Regions from separate parts of the Homo sapiens genome. Here region 1 is linked to region 2. The links are contacts of gene promoters, found by promoter capture Hi-C in blood cells and fetal thymus (Javierre and others, 2016). All regions are on one chromosome and are shown on one strand. Each heading gives the region's core, a stretch centred on a gene start or on the middle of the fragment in contact. The rest is flanking DNA. Distances are from core to core; before and after follow the strand shown. Region 1 has its middle 77 kb from the start of CCR1. Region 2 holds the start of CCRL2 (C-C motif chemokine receptor like 2).

Evidence for each region. The method cuts DNA at HindIII sites, captures the fragments that hold promoters and counts their contacts. A CHiCAGO score of 5 or more calls a contact.
Region 1: a fragment that was not itself captured here is called in contact with the fragment with the promoter of CCRL2 in region 2 in 3 of 17 cell types (M0 macrophages, M1 macrophages and M2 macrophages); the score reaches 9.6 in M0 macrophages.

The regions. Positions count from the first base shown.
Region 1 is chr3:46,129,617-46,133,110 of GRCh38, forward strand. No RefSeq gene overlaps it. Among named protein-coding and RNA genes, the nearest start is that of CCR1, 77 kb to the right of the region's middle. The HindIII fragment of the contact is 1,383 bases long and covers 1,492-2,874 here.
Region 2 is chr3:46,405,138-46,408,549 of GRCh38, forward strand. CCRL2 (C-C motif chemokine receptor like 2) reads left to right here and starts at 2,122. Exons shown (of 2, transcript NM_003965.5): 1 at 2,122-2,365; 2 at 2,931-3,412. The coding sequence starts at 2,943. It overlaps CCR5AS (CCR5 antisense RNA), which reads right to left and starts at 1,929. Exons shown (of 4, transcript NR_125406.2): 1 at 1,760-1,929. The HindIII fragment of the contact is 3,797 bases long and covers 1-3,412 here.

The DNA of each region.
Region 1 (3,494 bases), core at 933-3,432, 280 kb before region 2:
GGAGTGTACTGGTAAGGACTATGTGACTTAATCAAGAATTAAGTGAAGACAGCAAGGGGATGATAATATCCAGGGGAAATGGTGGGTCGAAGTTTCTAGGGAGTGCTTGATGGGGTGGAAACACAGGTGGGGGTGATGGTAAGGAGGATGTGCAAGAATAGGCACTATAGGCAGTTGTGGTTAGAGAAGGAGATGCTAAAGATTTCTTGATAGGGCAGATCCTGGAAGTGACAAGATTTGTGGTGTGGGTAGCTGAAAGGTGGGGGAGGCAAAGGATTTGAGGTCAAGAAATGCAAGGGCATAAAGGTAAAATCTTTCCCAAGATTACACCAGTAGTCCATGGGAGAGGTGGGACTCAAACCAGACTCAGAATCCAGAGAGGAGCTGGAGAACACGGGGCATGACCAAGGGGGTGAGGAGTGGTGGGGATGATGAGTGAGAAGGCTGGCCCAGGCAGCTCTCATGATGCTCAAAAGAGATGGGTGTTTGCATGCACAGCTTAGAAGGGAACACAGGGTGAAAGAAGGATGCTGGCCTTACAGCAACAATGTTCACTTGCAGAGTTTTTTGGTACCTCTGTGCACTGTGCCTGGTGCTAGGGACATTGAAATAAAAGATATAGGTGCTGCCCACAGGAAACACACAGTCACTGGGAGAGGCGGGCACATAAGCCCATCTGCAAAACAGAATGATACTCTGATAACCGCTGTTGGACCAAGCAGTGAGGGAGTGGCCCTGGCTGGAGTGGTGAGGTCAGGCACAGGAGGGAGGTGATGCTTAGGCACTTTGTGCGAACTTCACTAGTTGGGCCTGATGGAGCAGACGCAAGAGTGGGGTGGAAGGATACAACTGAGAAAGAGTCTGGTGTATTCAGGAGCCTCTGCGTGGCTTGGCGTGGGGAGCACCAGGACCATATGTCAGGGGATGAGGGTAGGCAGGGCCCTCACTAGGTCGTGTCTGCAGTTTGGCCTGAGTGTCATAGGAGGGGAGTGACAGGGAACAATTTGCATTTTAGAAAACGTGAAAGGGCAGATGAAAAAAATGAGCACAATGACTGCAGTATAAAATGTATTACTAGGCCGGCACAAGTAAAAATGAACAGGTTCTTAGAGGAGGATTATGTTCTCATTCCTTTTCAGGAAGTTTCCTTTATCATGACATTGTTTTTACACCAAAATGTGATTACTGTAAAAAGGGAACTGTGGTTAGTGTGAAAAGGGAACAAGCATGGAGTTACCAGAATCACATTTTCCTGACTGGAAAGAAGTCACAAGAAAACAACAGAGAACACTCACTCCATGTTCAGCATGAAGGAGAACTGCATGATCCAGGGAGGTTTAGGGGACCAAGAAGGTGGATAGGCTCTAACTGGGGCAGGCAGCAGGTGCGGCTGCAGAAAAGCGAAGGACTCCGAGCCCCGTGGTGCCTGCCTAAGAGTGAGCCAAACTCAGAAAGCCTGAGGCCCTTCTAGATGAAAGGTGACTGATGCAAAGCTTGATCCCAGATTGGATCTGGGTTATGGGAAGACAGCTCACCAGGGACTATTTAAGGGCAATTGGCGAAATGTAGACATGGAAGATGGACCAGACAACAGCATGAGATGAATGTTAAATTTCCTGATTTTGATCCTTGTTCTGTGGCTATGTAAGAGAATGTCCTTACTTTTAGAAAATACACATGGGGCATTTTTGGGAAGTTTTTAAGGGCATGGTGTCTGTAACTTACTCTCAAGCAGTTCAGGAAAATAATATATAAATTAGATATGAAGAGAAGTGAGGGGAGGAGAATAACACAAATGGGGGCAAAATATTAACATTGGTGCATCTGGATAAGATGATCTTTGGACAGAGTTCTTTGAACTATTCTTGAAACATCTGCATAAAATTTGAAGTTATATCAAATTTGAAACTTACAAAGAAAAGGCTTAGGGTTGGATTCTGCTTGGGCTGGAACATAAACTCAAGGTGAGAATATAGCCAACTTTGTGAATAGAGCAACTGAACCAATACTGGGTTTTTTGTTTTCTTTAAAAATCATTCTCTGTGGAAGATCAACTTAAATCTATTCTGCCAATATTGATAATTACTGACTAGCATGTGGTTTTATTTGCACTATCATTTTAATGGTGTTTACTTTATATATTAATTTTTGGCCTAATTAATTGGAGGCTTCCAGAAGGACGATCCCCTGGAACAATTTTCCTTGTGTTTCCCCCTTTTTGTTCTGCAAGCGTATAGCGTATGGCAGCAAGGAGGATCTCATTGCTCTCAGGGAGGGTGCAGGACACAAGGGCAGTGTGTGGCCTGATGAAAGCTGCTTGTCCTGGGAGCCCTCAGCACACAGAACTTTAGTAGAAGGGAAACCCTTTCACATCAGGAGCCAGAAGCCTTGTTAGGGGAGGGACTGCAGATATTGAGTCGAGCAAATCTGGCAGGGTGGCTTACGGTGAGAGGAAAGGACTAGTAGGCCAAGGGCAAAGGTAAATTCACCAGGGCAAAGGCAGTCTGAGCTAAATGCAAGAGCCTGGGCTTTGCTGTGTGTATGCAGGGAGATTATGGAATAGCACAGCCAAGACCAGCAGCCTCCTGGCCCAGCGACTATGGCATGGGGCCACGCCCTGGGAACGATGGAGCTCCAGGCTTGGAGCATGTGTGAGCTGAAGGACCTCCAGGTGGAGGCTGGTGGGTGGCACCTCGACAGTAGTCTGAAGCGAGCCAGAGCAGCGAGGGCCTTGCCTCATCAGCAAGCAATTGTCCCTGGGGCTGCACCAGTCAAGGCTTCAACACTGACAATGTGATGTCTCTAGAACAGAGTAGTGGTGACCAGAATAGCCCCTTCCATTCTCTCCTAGCTTATGTTTGGAAGAAGGACAAAAGCTTTTCAAGCCCTCAGTGTTCTTCTGTTATTTGAAAAGGAGGCTTCAGGAGGGAGGCACTGGGCACCATTTTTCTGGAACTATTAACTGATGAAATTTTAAAAAAGATGTGTTTGTACCCAGTGGTAGATAATCTCCAAATGTGGTCACCATCAGGTCCGATGTCCTTTCCTGTATGTGTCAAGGGGGGGAATGTATGTCCCCTCCCCTCATGTCTGGATTTGCCCTGTGCCTGCTTTGACCAAATGTGGAAGTGATATGCTCGGACTTCCGAGCCCAGGTCTTACGGCCTGGCAGCTTCTGTTTTCTTCCTCCAGGGACATTCACTCTTGGTTCCTCCCTCTGGATCCCAGTGCCCCTACTATAAGAAGCCCAGTTTAGAGAGGCCAGGTGGTGGAGGGCTGAGGTCCTGACCAACAGCCTCAGCAGAGCTCCTGGTAGACACAGAACCACCTGGCCAGCTCTGTGAGGGGGGCCAATCTGCACCTGCCAGCCCTGCAGCACCAGCCAAGACCATACAAAGAACCACTCGGTCAATCCACAGAATCATAATGAATGGCTTTGTTATTTTAAACCACTAAGTTTTAGGGTGGTTTAAAAAAAAGTATTGATTGAGCAT
Region 2 (3,412 bases), core at 872-3,371:
CTATGTAGAAGTTTCAAGGACCTCATGGCCTGAGTGTGGATAGGCAGAATGCTGGGAATCAGGCAAAAATAAAATAATACTGAAAGTGAAGGTCATGCTAATATTAGTAAGCCAGGGTGATCCTGAATTTACAAAACATTTTTCTTTGGGAAATTTCACACCTCACATGATTCTGTGTTTTTACTTGGGAAATTTCACATCTCACATGACTCTGTGACATGCGGTACATGAGGTGCCTGACTGCTGTTTTTGTCCTCTACTAATGAGGAAGAGTGTGCGTACTCCCAGCGTTTTGCAAGTTTCAAAGTCTGACTTGACTTTCCTTCCTTTTCCTGGAACTGATCCATGAGTATCGAGAGTAAAGCTGCCCGCACCTACTCATTCAAGATCCTGAGTGTCCTGCCCAGCTGCAGGAGGTGGAGAGACCCAGGAGGAGGGGCCACTGCTGATCCCAGGCTGTAGGGGGTGGGAAGAGTGTCCCAGGGCACCATGACCCCCACTCACTCACTCACAGGAGACCCACACAAGAGAGGAGAGGGCACTTACAGCTTAGGTTCCCACCAGCACCAACTCCTCTGCCATCAAACATCATTGTGTTTCTCTTTCTGCCTTGTCTGTCGGCACACGTGGAGTTAAATTTAATGCTCAATCACATATTTGTCTGGGCTCTTTCTGTGTTTATTTTTCTCTTAATAGTTCTCTCTCCTCCCTTCCTCTCCCCGCCCCTCCTCCTCCTTCTTCTTTTTTTTTTCCAGAGACAGTGTCTCGCTCTGCCACCCAGGCCAGAGTGCAGAGTGGCATGATCATGGCTCACCGCAGCCTCCAACTCCTGGGCTCACGTGAACATCCCACCTTGGCCTCTGGAATGTCTGGGATTACAGGCACTTGCCACTGCATCTGGCTAATTTTTATATTGTTTATAGATCCGGGATCTCACTATGTTGCCCAGGCTGGCCTCAAACTCCTGGGCTCAAGCGACCCTCCCACCTCATACTTCTGAGTAGCTGGGGCTGTAGGAATGCGCCTCAGTGCCAGGCTAGTTTCTTAATTTTCTATTTCTATTTTGACAGGTACAAATTTTGTATTCAATCCTACCTCAGACACATCTTTGGTGGGAAAAGGATGTCATTTAATCAATATATAAATTCTAAGCAAATAGGTCTGATCCCCAAATTAGGTTAGTCACAGCTGCTGAGTCGTTGACCCAAGAGAAGCTCATCTAGATTTTTTCATTATTTTCAAGTTCCTCTTCTCGGTTCGTCCTTCTTCCAGACCGTGCCCTCCCCGTCCCACTCTCTTCCCACAGCCTCCCCTCCCCACAGCCTCCTCCCACCATTCCAAATCTGGGCTGTTCTCTCAATTTCCTTCTCTCTGGACTCAAACCTACCCTAGCCCCCAGCCTCAGTTTGGGGTTAAACTTGTCCTCCTCACATTCTCTCCCACCCAACTTGATGTCGCCTCTGTGTCATCACCACGGGATTTTCCTCCTCTGGGTTCTCCTTTTCCGAGTGGGGTCAGCTCCCCCATGAGTCACAGCACCAATCACTTCTGGCTGCTTGCAAACCCCTTTGCTTTCCTCAGTGTTGACACCCAGGGCAGCCCTATGCTCACTGCCGCTGAGACCCCACCTCTGCCCCTGGCCTTTTCCCAGCTGACATCACCCTGTGGCTTCCATTTTCCTAAAATTCTCTTTTGAGGCCTCAGTCTTAACCAAAGCACACAGTGCCCCTCAAAAATGACAATAAAAACCCAAACACACCGTGACTGTCATGGCAGGTTCCTGGTCCCCGTATTGAATCAGCGGGTGGGTTTCTGCGAACACTGGTGAGAGGCCGCATTAGAGGGTCAGGACCCTCAGGTCTGGACTCGTGGTCACCACATACCTTCCTCCCTGCTGACAGTAGCTGGTACCTGTTACCTACTCAGAGTGTCACATGCCACAAGCCAGAGCGTCTTGGCAGTTCTCAGCACCTTGACATCACTTCCTTGCTACCACTCAGAGCGGCAGTGACACAGTTCCCTTATCTCAGAAGGCCAGAAGACGGCTGTCAAAGGTCACAGGGAAATCAAAGGCGGGGTACAGGGCCAGAGGGAGGAGGAAACAACTTCCCGGTTGCTTTCAGACGCTTCAGAGATCCTCTGGAGGCCTGGGGGAGCTTTTGAGTACTTTATTTCAGTTGGTCCCTGAGCTCGGTGAGTGGGGCGGGTAGAGCCACCAGGGGAATCAACAGTGGTTTCTCGTGCCCCTCAGGGTCAGGAGCAGTCTGATCAAAAGGAGGGCATCCACTGTCCGGGGCCATTCCCACAGCTCCCGGATGCTGGGTCTGGAGGCTGCGCCCTTCCCCTGCAGGAGCTCAGCCCAGTGGTAAGTCATCTGTGTGTCATCTATGTATTTAACCCCTTATGGCCATGTTGATGCTGAGCATGGTTTCACTTTTGCAAACATTTATTTATACCCTTCGAGAGAAAAACGTCTCAGCTGTCACAGGAAGCTGCTTCGGGGGGTGAGCAAACTTTTTAAAATGCAGAAATTATGATCTACACCCGTTTCTTAAAAGTAAGCCATCGTACTTGGTTCTCTTTAATTATATATTTTCTTACATATTGTGTTCATGTAGGCAAGTCCTGTTTCTGCTAAAAGAAGGTAAGTTCTACCAAGGCGGTGTCATGCCAGCTTTATTTCCCGTGGCACCTGGCACACTGCTAAGCACTTACATGCTTAACAACTAGATTGGGAATGGTGCTGCTCTGGGGAAGTGGGCACACGTTAAAGAAATGTTTATTTCAGTCTTCTGAAATAGGGAATTACTCTGGCTAAAATGTAGCTCCAGAAAGGGAAAGTGGGGCTGTATGAATCCAGGTCCAGTTTGTTGTTTCCTCCAGGATAAGGCAGCTGTCGGAGGGGAAAATCATCTCCCATTTCTCCACAGGGCAGTCTGAAGATGGCCAATTACACGCTGGCACCAGAGGATGAATATGATGTCCTCATAGAAGGTGAACTGGAGAGCGATGAGGCAGAGCAATGTGACAAGTATGACGCCCAGGCACTCTCAGCCCAGCTGGTGCCATCACTCTGCTCTGCTGTGTTTGTGATCGGTGTCCTGGACAATCTCCTGGTTGTGCTTATCCTGGTAAAATATAAAGGACTCAAACGCGTGGAAAATATCTATCTTCTAAACTTGGCAGTTTCTAACTTGTGTTTCTTGCTTACCCTGCCCTTCTGGGCTCATGCTGGGGGCGATCCCATGTGTAAAATTCTCATTGGACTGTACTTCGTGGGCCTGTACAGTGAGACATTTTTCAATTGCCTTCTGACTGTGCAAAGGTACCTAGTGTTTTTGCACAAGGGAAACTTTTTCTCAGCCAGGAGGAGGGTGCCCTGTGGCATCATTACAAGTGTCCTGGCATGGGT